3 separate regions of the Homo sapiens genome follow, and all the other regions are linked to region 1. The links are contacts of gene promoters, found by promoter capture Hi-C in human tissues and cell types (Jung and others, 2019). All regions are on one chromosome and are shown on one strand. The core of a region is centred on a gene start or on the middle of the fragment in contact, and the rest is flanking DNA. Distances in the headings are between cores, read along the strand shown. Region 1 holds the start of RPL13 (ribosomal protein L13). Region 2 overlaps ANKRD11 (ankyrin repeat domain containing 11). Region 3 overlaps ANKRD11 (ankyrin repeat domain containing 11).

What was found. The method cuts DNA at HindIII sites, captures the fragments that hold promoters and counts their contacts. A contact is called where the count stands out against the background at its distance.
Region 2: a contact is called between a fragment that was not itself captured here and the fragment with the promoter of RPL13 in region 1, in 6 of the 25 tissues and cell types used here (bladder, dorsolateral prefrontal cortex, hippocampus and 3 more).
Region 3: a contact is called between a fragment that was not itself captured here and the fragment with the promoter of RPL13 in region 1, in 2 of the 25 tissues and cell types used here (hippocampus and stomach).

What each region holds. Positions count from the first base shown.
Region 1 is chr16:89,556,896-89,561,931 of GRCh38, forward strand. It overlaps RPL13 (ribosomal protein L13), which reads left to right and starts at 3,787. Exons shown (of 6, transcript NM_000977.4): 1 at 3,787-3,817; 2 at 4,045-4,168; 3 at 4,332-4,473; 4 at 4,683-4,856. The coding sequence starts at 4,065. SNORD68 (small nucleolar RNA, C/D box 68) reads left to right here and starts at 4,535; the gene lies at 4,535-4,606. SPG7 (SPG7 matrix AAA peptidase subunit, paraplegin) reads left to right here. Exons shown (of 17, transcript NM_003119.4): 17 at 1-871. The coding sequence ends at 198. RefSeq lists silencers at 2,229-2,448, 3,990-4,259, 4,320-4,369 and an enhancer at 3,770-3,879. The HindIII fragment of the contact is 11,945 bases long and covers 1-5,036 here.
Region 2 is chr16:89,437,272-89,442,307 of GRCh38, forward strand. All of the region lies in intron 1 of ANKRD11 (ankyrin repeat domain containing 11), which reads right to left. The region is part of intron 1 of LOC101927817 (a long non-coding RNA gene); the gene reads left to right. Among named protein-coding and RNA genes, the nearest start is that of ANKRD11, 51 kb to the right of the region's middle. The HindIII fragment of the contact is 5,376 bases long and covers 207-5,036 here.
Region 3 is chr16:89,460,603-89,465,638 of GRCh38, forward strand. All of the region lies in intron 1 of ANKRD11 (ankyrin repeat domain containing 11), which reads right to left. Among named protein-coding and RNA genes, the nearest start is that of ANKRD11, 27 kb to the right of the region's middle. RefSeq lists an enhancer at 2,173-3,161. The HindIII fragment of the contact is 3,625 bases long and covers 884-4,508 here.

The DNA of each region.
Region 1 (5,036 bases), core at 2,537-5,036:
GCCCTTCTGGAAAAGGAAGTGATAAACTATGAGGACATTGAGGCTCTCATTGGCCCGCCGCCCCATGGGCCGAAGAAAATGATCGCACCGCAGAGGTGGATCGACGCCCAGAGGGAGAAACAGGACTTGGGCGAGGAGGAGACCGAAGAGACCCAGCAGCCTCCACTTGGAGGCGAAGAGCCGACTTGGCCCAAGTAGTTGGGAGGTGTTGGCTGCACGTGCGGGTGGTCCGGGAAGTGAGGGCTCACTCAGCCACCCTGAGTTGCTTTTCAGCTGAGGTTTGCACTTCCTCTCGCGGCCCTCAGTAGTCCCTGCACAGTGACTTCTGAGATCTGTTGATTGATGACCCTTTTCATGATTTTAAGTTTCTCTGCAGAAACTACTGACGGAGTCCTGTGTTTGTGAGTCGTTTCCCCTATGGGGAAGGTTATCAGTGCTTCCCGAGTGAGCATGGAACACTTCGAGTTCCCAGGGTTATAGACAGTCGTTCCCAGTGTGGCTGAGGCCACCCAGAGGCAGCAGAGCATTCAGACTCCAAACAGACCCCTGTTCATGCCGACGCTTGCACGACCGCCCCAGTTCCTGTGGCTCCCTCGGAATGCTAAGGGGATCGGACATGAAAGGACCCTGTGAGCCGATTGTCCTATCTCCAGCGGCCCTGTCATCCAGCTCACTCATCAATGGGGCCAGTCAGGCCCAGGCACTGGGCTCCGGAGGACTCACCACTGCCCCCTGCTGCCATGTGGACTGGTGCAAGTTGAGGACTTCTTGCTGGTCTAGTCACGCATGCAGTGTTGGGGATGCCTTGGTTTTTACTGCTCTGAGAATTGTTGAGATACTTTACTAATAAACTGTGTAGTTGGAAAATCTACATTTGCATTGTCTGGCCAGCTCTAATGCAGAGGAGCTGGTGGGCTTGCCCTGGATCACAGGGTCTTGTGGTTTCAGTTTATAATTTGAGTAATGCAGGGACTAAGTGAAAAACTCCTTCTGTAGGAATCTGGGGCCTGGACCCCGTAGGGATAGAAGACGACCCAGGACACCCTGGCCCTGAGTTCCGGGGCATGCGGCTCCCACTCCGGCCCCCTTGCTTCTGCCCTCCCTGTGGTGCAGTGACGTGAGTGGATTGTCCTCTTGTTGCTGCAACACTGAAACGCTGGCGGAGCAGTAAGGAGGCAGCCACAGGTGCAGTCACACACCCGAGGGTGGCATCTCTGAGAGATGCCTTGACCTTTGCCCCAGTTCTCCAAATCCAAAGACCAGCACATCGATGGGAGGGTTTTAGCTGGTGTAGCCAAGGGTAGTGTCCTCGGTAATTGTTTTTTTTTTGCTGTTGTGTTGGTTTTTGGCAGAGTCTTGCTCTGTCGCCCAGGCTAGAGTGCAGTGGCGCCATCTCGGCTCACTGCAGCCTCGATCTTCTGGGCTCAAGCAATCCTCCTGACTCAGCCTCCCAAGTAGCTGGGACCGCAGGCACGCACCATTATGCCCGACTAATTTTTGTACTTTTTGTAGAGACAGGGCTAGACTCGAATTTCTGAGTTCAAGTGATCCTCCTGCCTTGGCCTCCCAATGTGTTGGGATTACAGGTGTGAGCCACTGTGCCAAGCCTTTTGTGAAATTAATTTATTATTTTTTAATTATTATTTGTTTTTGGAGATGGAATCTTGCTCTGTAGTCCAGGCTGGAGTGCAGTGGCACGATCTTGGGTCAGTGCAACCTCCGCCTCCCGGGTTCACGCCATTCTCCTGCCTCAGCCTCCCAAGTAGGTGGGACCACAGGCGCCTGCCACCACGCCCGGCTAATTTTTTGTATTTTTAGTAGAGTCGGGGTTTCACCATGTTAGCCAGGATGGTCTCGATCTCCTGACCTCGTGATCTGCCTGCCTTGGGCTCCCAAAATGCTGGGATTACAGGTGTGAGCCAGCACGCCCAGCTCTTAAATTTTTCATTTTTGAGACGGAGGCTTAACTCTGTCACCCAGGCTGGAGTGCAGTGGTGCAGTCTCGACTCACTGTAACCTCTGCCTCCTGGGTTCAAGTGATTCCCCTGTCCTACTCTCTGGAGTAGCTAGGATTACAGGTGTACACAACCACACATGGCTAATTTTTGTATTTTTAGTAGAGGCGGGATTTTGCCATGTTGGCTAGGCCGGTCTCCAACTCCTGACCTCAGGTGATCCACCCGCCTCGGCCTCCCAAAGTGCTGGGATTTACAGGCATGAGCCACCGTGCCTGGCCTGTGAAATACTTTTTTTTCTTTTTGAGACTGAGTCTTGCTCTGTTGCCCAGGCTAGAGTGCAGTAATGTGATCTTGGCTCACTGCAACCTCTGCCTCCCCAGTTCAAGCAATTCTGGTGACTCAGCCTCCTAAGTAGCTAGGATTACAGGCATGCGCCACCACGCCCAGCTTTTTTGTATTTTTAGTAGAGACAGGGTTTCACCATCTTAGCCAGGGTGATCTCAAACTCTTGACCTCGGCTGATCCGCCCACCTCAGCCTCCCAAAGTGCTGGAACTGTGAAATTCTTAAAATGTGGATTACGTTGGCCAGGCACGGTGGCTCACGCCTGTAATCCCAGCACTTTGGGAGGCCCAGGCGGGCGGATCGCGAGGTCAGGAGATCGAGACCATCCTGGCTAACACAGTGAAACCCCGTCTGTACTAAAAATACAAAAAATCAGCTGGGCGTGATGGTGGGCGCCTGTAGTCCCAGCTACTTGGGAGGCAGAGGCAGGAGAATGGCGTGAACCCGGGAGGCAGAACTTGCAGTGAACAGAGATCGCACCACTGAACTCCAGCCTGGGCAACAGAGGGAGACTCCGTCTCAAAAAAAAAAAATAATAATAAGTTTTACCAGGAGGAAGCGTGGTGATTGGGTGAGGGTAGGGAAGAAAGAGGGTTATTGGGATTTAAAGGTTTCCAGGTAGCAGTAAGATGGATGGTGCCTTCACAGACTTATACTAGAGAAGAGATGGCTTTTTGTTGATGCTTTTCTTTGTGAAGGAAGGCAGTAGGCACAGCAGGTCAGAGTGTGACATTTTCAGTCGGGTACCCCTGACCTTAGAGAAGTCACCTAATCCTGGGCCAAGGGAAAGCGACAGAGGCCAACAGTAACTCCGTCTACTAAAATACCAAAAATTAGCAGGGTGTGGCGGCGGGCGCCTGTAATCCCAGCTACTCGGGAGGCTGAGGCAGAATTGCTTGAACCTGGGACGCGGAGGCTGCAGTGAGCCGAGATCGCGCCATTGCACTCCAGCCTGGGCGACGGAGCGAGACTCCGTCTCCAAAAAAAAAAAACAAAAAAAAAAACCACAAATGTTCTAAATGGATGGGAGGAGAATAAACGCTGGAACGACAAGGACGAAGGCCTTAGGTTGCGCAAACTCGGATGTCACTGAAGTTTTTCTGCCTTTGCGCTGCAAACGTGTCTCACAAATGTGAACAAACAGAATTCCTCGGGCGTCGCCCGTTCGCCGTCGGCCCAGATACCGGACTCGCGCGCGTTAGCCCGCAAGACAGGACTCGGCCGCGGCCCGCGCAGCGGCTGAAGCGCCGGGGCAGTAACGGCGGACGTCAAGCAAGTCCGGCCGTCGGTTACTCAGGGCCCAGGAATCACGGCCGCCCCGCCGCATTCTCAGCGGCAACATGTCTGCGACGGCGGCCCTAGGGCTGCCGGGAGAGCCGCGGCGACGTCAGTTCCTCCTTTCGGGGCTCTGATTGGTCAGAGCGCCCGGCGCTTCTGGTTGGCCGGCCCTGCTATCATCCCAGAGTGCATTGCGGGGCCGCTTCCTTTCCGCTCGGCTGTTTTCCTGCGCAGGAGGTGAGGGAGACTGGGTCCTGGCCTTTGGGCATCATCCAGCGCCATCGGCCTGGCGCTTCAGCCAACGCGGGAGTGGATGGGCCCCTTCTTCTTCGCAGACAGCGTTCGGCCGCTGCCCGGGCTCTAGGCGCGGCCGGACGGCCCAGTCTGGAGGGTTCGGGGCGGAGGCCCGGGGGGGTGCGCGCGCCCGGGGTCCGGCCTCTCACTCGCTCCCCTCTCGTCCGCAGCCGCAGGGCCGTAGGCAGCCATGGCGCCCAGCCGGAATGGCATGGTCTTGAAGCCCCACTTCCACAAGGACTGGCAGCGGCGCGTGGCCACGTGGTTCAACCAGCCGGCCCGTAAGATCCGCAGGTGAGCCCTGCGCTCGGGGCTGCCCCTGGGGCTCGTGCCCGCGGCTGCGCCTTGGCTTGCGGGTGGCCGATGCCAGGGCGGGGGGCGCTGTCTGCAACCGTCGCGGAGCGCTGGCCTGGCGGCCTTAGGCAAGGGTGACCGCCGCTGCGCTTCTCTCCACCAGACGTAAGGCCCGGCAAGCCAAGGCGCGCCGCATCGCCCCGCGCCCCGCGTCGGGTCCCATCCGGCCCATCGTGCGCTGCCCCACGGTTCGGTACCACACGAAGGTGCGCGCCGGCCGCGGCTTCAGCCTGGAGGAGCTCAGGGTGAGTACTGGCAGCGCTGCGGTGTCAGGAAGGCCCCGAAGTCCCCTCTGTTGGCCTCAGTCGCGTGATGACATTCTCCGGAATCGCTGTACGGCCTTGATGAAAGCACATTTGAACCCTTTTCCATCTGATTGCTGAGGCTTTTCATCCAGGCCTCGGGGCTGGAGAAAGCCCGGGCCTGTCTCCATCTCTCTCTGGTTCTGGGGCAGGTGGCCGGCATTCACAAGAAGGTGGCCCGGACCATCGGCATTTCTGTGGATCCGAGGAGGCGGAACAAGTCCACGGAGTCCCTGCAGGCCAACGTGCAGCGGCTGAAGGAGTACCGCTCCAAACTCATCCTCTTCCCCAGGAAGCCCTCGGCCCCCAAGAAGGGAGACAGTTCTGTGAGTACACGGCTCTCTGGCCGTCCTGGTGCGCGGGGACAGTGAGGCTTGGCTCCTTTATCAGTGACACCGGTCCCTGGGTCTTGCTGGGGTGAGAAGAACCAAAACATTGTGGGTGATGAGCTAAGCGGGACTGCTAAGGTTCACCTGTGCGTTTCCGCAGAGATAACCTTAATGGAC
Region 2 (5,036 bases), core at 1,645-4,144, 120 kb before region 1:
TAATATGACAGAGAATTTTTTAAAAAGCCACCAAAAAAATACCAAAAAGTGAAAGACTGTATTGTTTGCCCCAACATCTGTTTTCTTCACTCTAATGTTCCCAAACCAGTGCAGCAAACAGGCTGGCTCTTCCCGCCTCCCACTGACTCCTCCACACCCCTACTTCCTCTCTCCTCATTCACCTCTTCTTCTTTCTGCTCTTCTGTGCCTCCCACTCTCTCACTGAGCAGCCCCTCACTTCCCAGCATGCCACCATCTCCCCTGAGCAAACAGTCCTCCAGAGACAGTCCTCCAGAGCTCTCTCCAACCTGACATCTCTCCCAAGAGCCCACTCACCAGATGTCCAAGGGGTTTATGAAAGCCATGGATTCAAGGCTAGAGACGCTGTCCCTCAGACCAGCTCTCTCCGGCTCTTCCTGTCTGGTAGGGAGGCTGTGGTGCCCTGGCCACTCTCATTTCTCACTGGCCTCTGCACCTCCCATGCATCCGCTCCTCCGCCATGCCTCTCCACTACTCCTAATGCCACTCCCAGCTCCAGCAACCCACCCTCCAGGGCACCTCGACGCTATGCCCAGTTCAATCTCCTATGGGTCAGTGCAGGGCAATGCATAATGCAAACTAGGCCCGGGGGCTGTGGAGTTGGGCAGCCATGGTTAAAATCATTCTTAGTTTCCTCATCTGTAGAAAGAAAAATTCCTGGATACAAAATATAAGATGAATATACACAAGTCCATTGTATTTCTAGACACCAACACCAGGCAGAGTCCACCATGAAGGCAAGTGGCAGTGTCCCAAGGAGAGCCCGCTGGCCAGGAGGGCACCGCAAGCTTGGACACAGCAGGGGCACTGGAGATGGGTCCACGAACCGCGTGCGCAGCCCAGGAGGCTGGCACAACTGGTGTCTGCATGAAGACTAGGAACAGCTGGCTTCTTATCTCACACCATACACAAACATCAATTTAGGATACATTAAAGGTATAAATGCAAAGGGCAAAAGTACAAAATGTGCAGAAGGCGTAGGAAGCTATCTTTATGGCCTTGGGATAGGGAACATTTTTTTTTTTTCAACACAGAGTCTCACTCTGTTGCCCAGGCTGGAGTGCAGTGGTGCGATCTCAGCTCACTGCAGCCTCCGCCTCCTGGGTTCAAGCAATTCTCCTGTCTCACCCACCCGAGTAGCTGGGACTACTGGCGTGTGCTACCACATCCAGCTAATTTGTGTGTGTGTGTGCGTATTTTTAGTAGATACAGGGTTTCACTAGGTTGGGCCAGGCTGGTCTTGAACTTATGACTTCAGGTGATCCACCCACCTGGGCCTCCCAAAGTGCTGGGATTACAGGTATGAGCCACCGTGCCCATCCAAGAAAATTTTCTAAAAAAAGACATACTGGGTCATGATGGACAGTTTGGAAGGCATTGCCCCCAAGAACCAAGCACAGTCCCTTCGAAGCTAAAGTATTCAAATCTCAAGTCATCAAATGTTACTGCATTTAGGAGGCCGAGGTGGGAGGACTGCTTGATCCCAGAAGTTCAAGGCCAACCAGAGCAACATGTGAGACCGCATCTCTATAAAAAATTTTAAAATAAACTAGCCAGGTGTGGGGTTGCATGCCTGTGATCCCAGCTGCTGGAGAGGCTGAGATGGGAGACTGCTTGAGCCAATGAGTTCGTGATCATACCACTGCACTCCAGCCTGAACGACAGAGCAAGACCCTGCCTCAAACAAAAACAGAAACAAAAACAAACAAAAATTTTAACCTTTCTCTTAAAAAAAACAAAACCAAAAAAAAAAAAGAACTGTATTCTTCCATTCATATAGAAGATAAACATCACAATGGGAAACTCCCTCTGTGTGGCACGTTGTTCAAATCCACATGCATGCACAGTCCCAGAGTCTTCTTTCCTACCCGCAGCACTGAAGGTTCAAGGAAGTCCCACTGTTTTCAGTAAACTGAAAACTTTTTTGGAAAATGCTGTTTTCCAGTATAGACAACTGAATCCTAAGCACAAATATATAGGACCTCTGAATATGTAAAAATTTAAAAGCAGACAACACTAAATTAATGATTTTACTTTTAAGGAGATAAAATGTTCCTTGACTTGCAATGGGGTTACCTCCCAATAAACCCAGTGTAAAGTCAAAAATCCTAAGTCGAACCATCATTAAGTCAGGGACTATCTGTATACACTTTCAGTGCTAAAAACTACACCAAAGAAAAAACAAGTGTCAAAGTTCTCCATGTAAAACAGTGATCCAGGGATATGGGTGAGAAAACCCATCTAAAATGCAATGTGATATTTAGGATAAAGCTGAAACACACCACAGCGCCTCAGCAATTGAGGCTGTGAATACAACCACACAATCAGCAAAGAAAAGCTTGTTCTATTCTTCATCTACACCACTCACACACAACACCAAAGGTGTTCTCAGCACACCTCCATCCACCTCAGATCTATTCTTCATCTACACCACTGACACACAACACCAAAGGTGTTCTCAACACAACTCCGTCCCCCTCAGAACTCTGTGGAACGTTTTCATTCCCAATGATCACCAACAGAGCCAGCTGTAAGCTCAACTCTAACACTACCCACAGTGCAGCTGACCTAGACTGATGGGCGGCCTCCGGAGAAGTCAAAGACTCCAGCTCTACTGCACACACCCACAGCAGGAGAGGCCTGTGTCTCTCACAGGTGTGGGGTCTGAGCCGCAGCCCACTACCTTAACTCCATAATCTGTGACTTGGCTCTTATGAGGAAGCTGACAAAGAATCAGAGACTCAGAGGAGATCACAGCCTTTCAGGACTGAGGTCTAAAACACAGAACCTCTAGCCCAGTGCTCACCCGCAACCATTTCCCTGCCTCTTCCTACTTCTCCAGTCCTCAAGGGGACAATGGCAGGGTTCACAGGATTCTTCCTCCGGAAGAATTCAGTGTGCTGTAATTAGAAATGAACATTTTATCAATATGTTCACGTAAAATGTACATGTTCCCCTGGGGGGAGGGATAAATAACAGTGGAACTAGGAAAAGCAGACCACCAGAAAATGTCTCGGTCCAGCGTGGTGGCTCAGGCCTGTAATCCCAGAACTCTGGAAGGCTGAGGGGGGAGGATCACATGAGGCCAGAAGTTCAGACCAGCCTGAGCAACACACTGAAACCTCAACTTTGTAACAATAAAAACAGAATAAAAACTTAGCTGGGCATGGAGGTGTGCACCTGTAGTCCCAGGCACTCAGGAGGCTGAGGTGGGAGAATTGCTTGAGACCAGGAGGTCAACACTACAGTGAGCTGTGAGTACCAATGCACTCCAACCTGGATGACACGACAAAACTCTGTCTCAAAAGGAGGGGGAGGAGGAGGTAAGAGGGAAAGGAAGAAAGCATAAGAAAATATCAAGCACAAACTAAGGGCCCCAAAAAATCCAACTCACAGCAACGTGGGCAGAGCCCTGGAGAAGCCAGAGGACATCCAGGCACCACCCAGCAAGGGGCTACAGAAAGGGGGCCACCTGCCTCCAAGCCTGCCGGGACTGAAAATAAATCCATGTGGCATCAACAGGAACATCTGTGGCTGTGTGGCAATGCGTGTGAGTGCGCATGAATCCTGGTGTGGCTGGTGTGTGTCACAGTCAAAACGGAAAGAGAGAGCGCATCGTGGTTTATAAAAAATAAGTTTCCTTGCGGCCAGACACAGTGGCTCACGCCTGTAATCCCAGCACTTTGGGAGGCCGAGGCGGGCAGATCATGAGGTCAGGAGATCGAGACCATCCTGGCTAACACCGTGAAACCCTGTCTCTACTAAAAATACAAAAATTAGCCGGGCGTGGTGGTGGGCGCCTGTAGTCCCAGCTACTCGGGAGGCTGAGGCAGGAAAATGGCGTGAACCTGAGAGGCAGAGATCGCAGTGAGCCAGGATCGAGCCACTGCACTCCAGCCTGGGCCACAAAGTGAGACTCCGTCTCAAAAAAAAAAAAGTTTCCTCGCTATGCATGCGCTAAAACCCTCTGGAGTGAAGTCCTAAAATATTTAAATGAATTTTCATTCTGAAGAGACTACAGAACTTCTCAACACAGGCTCTCTTACACAGACTCTATTACACAGACTTTTTTAAGATCTTGCACATCCAATGTCAGAATATATTCCATCACCCAGCAACAAAAGCAGTCAGGAAAAAAACTTCAGAAAAAGAATTATTAAAAAATACGCAAACCTGGCCGGGCGCGGTGGCTCACGCCTGTAATCCCAGCACTTTGGGAGGCCAAGGCGGGCGGATCACGAGGTCAGCAGATGGAGACCATCCTGGCTAACATGGTAAAACCCCACCTCTACTAAAAATACAAAAAATTAGCTGGGTGTGGTGGTGGGCACCTGCAGTCCCAGCTACTCGGGAGGCTGAGGCAGGAGAATGGCATGAACCCAGGAGGCGGACTATGCAGTGAGCCAAGATCGTGCCACTGCACTCCAGCCTGGGCAACAGAGCGAGACTCCGCCTACAAAAAAAAAAAAAAAAAAAAAAAAAACGCAAACCTGACTCTTAAAAAATTAAACATACCCTGCATAACTGAACAGTGTCCACAAGCAGGAATCTCTCTGGATGGCAAGGTGGCAGCCGACTATGGCACTCACCAAAAAGGCACCTTCCCCCATCATCCATGCAAAGACCTTTCCCAAAGCCACCAGACCTCCGTTCAAACAACTCAAATCCGGTCTAGAAATTAAAAATCCTTGTACTGAAAGCAAAATCAGGGTTAGCTGTGACTAAGATCCAAGAAATAAACTTTTTAAAAAGTAATAAACATGAATTCATCAGTATGAAAAAGGTCTGTGCACAGTGAGCAGTTGGCACACCGATGCAGTGCACCGAGGGCCAAGGCGAAGGCCGCAGGGGGAGGAGGCTCAGCAGAGGGAGGACACCCCAGCTGACAACGCACGCCCACTGGTGCCAGTGCTTTGGAGAACATGCCAGGTCATGTCTACGCTTTCCTCACTAAGGATTTAATTTCAGTATTCTACAATCTAACTCTACACTCTCAA
Region 3 (5,036 bases), core at 1,446-3,945, 97 kb before region 1:
AGCTCACGCATGTAATCTCAGCACTATGGAAGGTTGAAGCAGGCGGGTTGTTTGAGCCCAGGAGGTCGAGGCTATAGTGATCCACGATCACACCACTGCACTCCAGCCCGAGCAAGACAGCAAGACTCTGTCTCAAAAATAAGTAAACAAAAATTGAATTTGACCTGCAGGGGGTAGTCACAATTGAGGAATCTGAGCTGTGGGGCAAACTGTTCAAATGAAGATTCTGACCCACAGGAACAAACTGATCCAAAAGGGAAATATGCCAGTCACGAAAGGACAAATATTGTATGACCCCCCACCCCTTACAGGAGAGGTGCCTTGGACAGTGACATTCATAAGAGAAGAAAGGACAAATATCGTATGACCCCCCCCCCCAACAGGAGACGCACCTTGAGTGGTGACATTCATAACAGAAGAAAGGACAAATATCGTATGACCACCCCCCCGCAGGAGACGCACCTTGAGTGGTGACATTCATAAGAGAAGAAAGGACAAATATCGTATGACCCCCTCCCATAGGAGACGCACCTTGAGTGGTGACATTCATAAGAGAAGAAAGGACAAATATCGTATGACCCCCCCCCCCCCCTTATAGGAGAGGTGCCTTGAGTGGTGACATTCATAAGAGAAAGCAGATTGGTGGTCAGGGGTTATGGGGAGAGTCGAGGTTATGGGGAGAGGGATGAAGAGTTAGTGTTAATGGGTAGCCGGTGTCGTCTGGGAAGACCAAGTTCTGGAGAGGGATGGTGGTGATGGCTTTGCACCGTGTGAATCTAATACCAGAGAACTGCACACTCAAAAATGGTACAAATGGTCAATTTTATACTGCTGGGCTCAGGGAATCCTTCCCCTCAGCCTCCTGAGGAGCTGGGACCACAGGCACCTGCCACCACGCCTGGCTAACTTTTGTATTTTTTGTAGAAACAGGGTATCTTCATTTGCCCAGGCTGGTCTCAAACGCCTGTGCTCACGTTATCTGCTTCCCTCGGCCTCCGAAAGTGCTGAGACTACAGGCGTGAGCCACCACACCCCACTTAATAATTCCATTTTAATACCGATTTACTAAACAAGGAAAAGCTCATAGAATTACTAACTATGCCATCTTATTTAGGCTACCTAAATTCTCTGAACTTCATCTTCTAAATAAATAAGAAGAAATGTATCTTTTAACACTAATAACTATGGTCATTCCCATTAAAACATTAAGTTTTGAAAACTAGGGTTCTCATTTAAGCCTGTCTCACAGCAGCTCAGCTCTCAGAATGTTCAGAAGACTCTGACACTGCCCTCTCCCCTCCTCTGGCACTCATTTTGGAAACCTGCAGAGCATCTATTGAAAAAGCCCATCCCAGCATCTTCTTAATCACTGGTATACTTCCGTCTGTCACGAGCTTCATTTAAAAAAAGCGTCACGCTCCCTCTCCCTCCCCCTCTCCCTCTCCCCCTCTCCCTCTCCCTCTCTCCCTCTCCCTCTCCCCATGGTCTCCCTCTCCCTCTCTTTCCACGGTCTCCCTCTCATGCTGAGTCGAAGCTGGACTGTACTGCTGCCATCTCGGCTCACTGCAACCCCCCTGCCTGATTCTCCTGACTCAGCCTGCCGAGTGCCTGCGATTGCAGGCTCACGCCGCCACGCCTGACTGGTTTTGGTGGAGACGGGGTTTCGCTGTGTTGGCCAGGCCGGTCTCCAGCCCCTAACCGCAAGTGATCCGCCAGCCTCGGCCTCCCGAGGTGCCGGGATTGCAGACGGAGTCTCGTTCACTCAGTGCTCAATGGTGCCCAGGCTGGAGTGCAGTGGCATGATCTCGGCTCGCTACAACCTCCACCTCCCAGCCGCCTGCCTTGGCCTCCCAAAGTGCCGAGACTGCAACCTCTGCCCGGCCGCCACCCCGTCTGGGAAGTGAGGAGCGTCTCTGCCTGGCCGCCCATCATCTGGGATGTGAGGAGCCCCTCTGCCTGGCTGCCCAGTCTGGAAAGTGAGGAGCGTCTCCGCCCAGCCGCCATCCCACTTAGGAAGTGAGGAGCACCTCTTCCCGGCCGCCATCACATCTAGGAAGTGAGGAGCGTCTCTGCCCGGCCGCCCATCGTCTGAGATGTGGGGAGCGCCTCTGCCCCGCCGCCCCGTCTGGGATGTGAGGAGCACCTCTGCCCGGCCACCCCGTCTGACAAGTGAGAAGACCCTCTGCCCGGCAACCACCCCGTCTGAGAAGTGAGGAGCCCCTCCGCCCGGCAGCCACCCCGTCTGGGAAGTGAGGAGCGTCTCCGCCCAGCAGCCGCCCCATCCGGGAGGGAGGTGAGGGGGTCAGCCCCCCGCCCAGCTGCCCCGTCCGGGAGGGAGGTGGAGGTGGGGGGGGTCAGCCCCCCCGCCAGGCCAGCCGCCCCGTCCGGGAGGGAGGTGGGGGGGTCAGCCCCCCGCCAGGCCAGCCGCCCCATCCGGGAGGGAGGTGGGGGGGTCAGCCCCCCCGCCCGGCCAGCCGCCCCGCCCGGGAGGTGAGGGGCGCCTCTGCCCGGCCGCCCCTACTGGGAAGTGAGGAGCCCCTCTGCCCGGCCACCACCCCGTCTGGGAGGTGTGCCCAACAGCTCATTGAGAACGGGCCATGATGACAGTGGCGGTTTTGTGGAATAGAAAGCGGGGAAAGGTGGGGAAAAGATTGAGAAATCGGATGGTTGCCGTGTCTGTGTAGAAAGAAGTAGACATGGGAGACTTTTCATTTTGTTCTGTACTAAGAAAACTTCTGCCTTGGGATCCTGTTGATCTGTGACCTTGCCCCCAACCCTGTGCTCTCTGAAACATGTGCTGTGTCCACTCAGGGTTAAATGGATTAAGGGCGGTGCAAGATGTGCTTTGTTAAACAGACGGTTGAAGGCAGCATACTCGTTAAGAGTCATCACCACTCCCTAATCTCAAGTACCCAGGGACACAAACACTGCGGAAGGCCGCAGGGTCCTCTGCCTAGGAAAACCAGAGACCTTTGTTCACTTGTTTATTTGCTGACCTTCCCTCCACTATTGTCCTATGACCCTGCCAAATCCCCCTCTATGAGAAACACCCAAGAATTATCAATAAAAAATAAATAAATTAAAAAAAAAAAAAGCCTCACACTGGATAAGTGTTTTTCAATAATTTCAACGTAGTATTCCACAGCAAATTGTCTAGTTCACATTTAATTCAAAATTAATTCCCTACGTTACCACACAAGCAATAGACTGTTAAGTTTAATGCTCCCATGGCTTTCTACTTATGCAAAAAATTAACTTCTTCAAAACACCTATGGTGGAAGTTCTTCCTGTTCAGACTGCAATTCTATTTACAAAAAACAATAGTACTGTAGTACTATTAGACCACAACGCTAACGCCAGGCACAGTGGTTCACACCTGTAATCCCAACATTTTGGGAGGGTGAGGTGGGCGGATCACTTGAGGTCAGGAGTTAAAGACCAGCCTGGCCAACATGGTGAAACCCCGTCTCTACTAAAAATACAAAAATTAATCAGGCATGGTGGCGGGCGCCTGTAGTCCCAGCTACTCGGGAGGCTGAGACACGAGAATCACTTGAACCTGGGAGGTGGAGGCTGTAGCGAGCGAAGATCGCACCACTGCACTCCAGCCTGGGTGACAGAACGAGACTCCATCTCAAAAGAAAAAAAAAGATCACAATGGTGGAATCTAACCCTCTTATCTAAAATTTCTTAAAGTAACAAACATTTTGAAAAGAATAAATCTGGCAGAGCGTGGTGGCTCACGCCTGTAATCCCAGCACTTTGGGAGGCCGAGGCAGGCAGATCACGAGGTCAGGAGTTCAAGACCAGCCAGGCCAACATGGTGAAACCTCATCTCTACTAAAAATACAAAAAATTAGCTGGGCGTGGGGTCAGACACCTGTAATCCCAGCTACTCAGGAGGCTGAGGCACGAGAATCGCTTGAACCTGGGAGGTGGAGGCTGTAGTGAGCCAAGATCGCAACACTGCACTCCAGCCTGGGCGACAGAGTGAGACTCCATCTTAAAAAAAAAAAAAAAAGAAAAGAAAAGAAAAAGAAAAAAAGAAAAGAATAAATCTGTAACAGCACTGGAAAACAGAAGAATGACATGTCAATAGTTGACCAGAATTAAGCACCTAAATTAACAGAAAGTAAATGAAATCAGACAAATAACTTAAGTTTAGAGAAAACAGAGACCAAACTCTACAGAAGGAAGAAGCCGCAGAGATCAAACTCTACAGAAAGTCAGGACCACTGCAGAGGAAAAGCAAGCTTCAAGGATGAAAAACCAATAAAGCTACACAGTTCCAAGTTCATCTACTATGATTACTATGATGGGGAAACCACCTGGGGGTCAGGGGCCGAATCTGGCCCAATGTCTTTTTTAGACAGTCCACAGGCTAAGAATGAGGTTTATATTTATACCTGGTTGAAAAAGAAAATAACATTTTGTGGTAAGTGAAAATTATATGAAATTCTAATTTCAGTGTTAGTAATAGTTGTAACTGGAAAACAGCCAGGCTCGTTTTAAGTGTGGCCCCGGTTCCTTCCATGATACAACAGCAGAGCTGAAGAGCTGTCAGAGAACATGCGGCCACAAGGTCTAACTGGCCCTTGACAGAAAAACTGAGATGGAGTTAAAAAGACAAGTCTGCATATTAAAAGAGCTTCAAGATGCTAACCAATATAAAAAAGTCACAATCTAAACCCTAAAAATAGCAAAATGTCAGACTCCCACATATCAACAGAAAATCCTACAAGTTTCCACAAAATCCTAAAAAGCTTAACTAAAAAAGAATCATGAATTAGACTGGCGTTGGACTTCTCTCATCTTTACAGCAGAGGCCACGACAGAGAACAGGGGCAGCACACTCTTGCCGTGAAGAGCAGACAGTCCATCGAGGCCTTTCTGTGCCACACCGCCCGCCCGCACACATCCGCGGAAAGCCTGCTTTCAGCTGCTCAGCAGGTGGGAACACTTGCTCCTCCAGCATTCCACCATGAGACAAAGGAAAAAGTCGCTTCTGTGTGTCCACCAGCACACGACTCCCATGT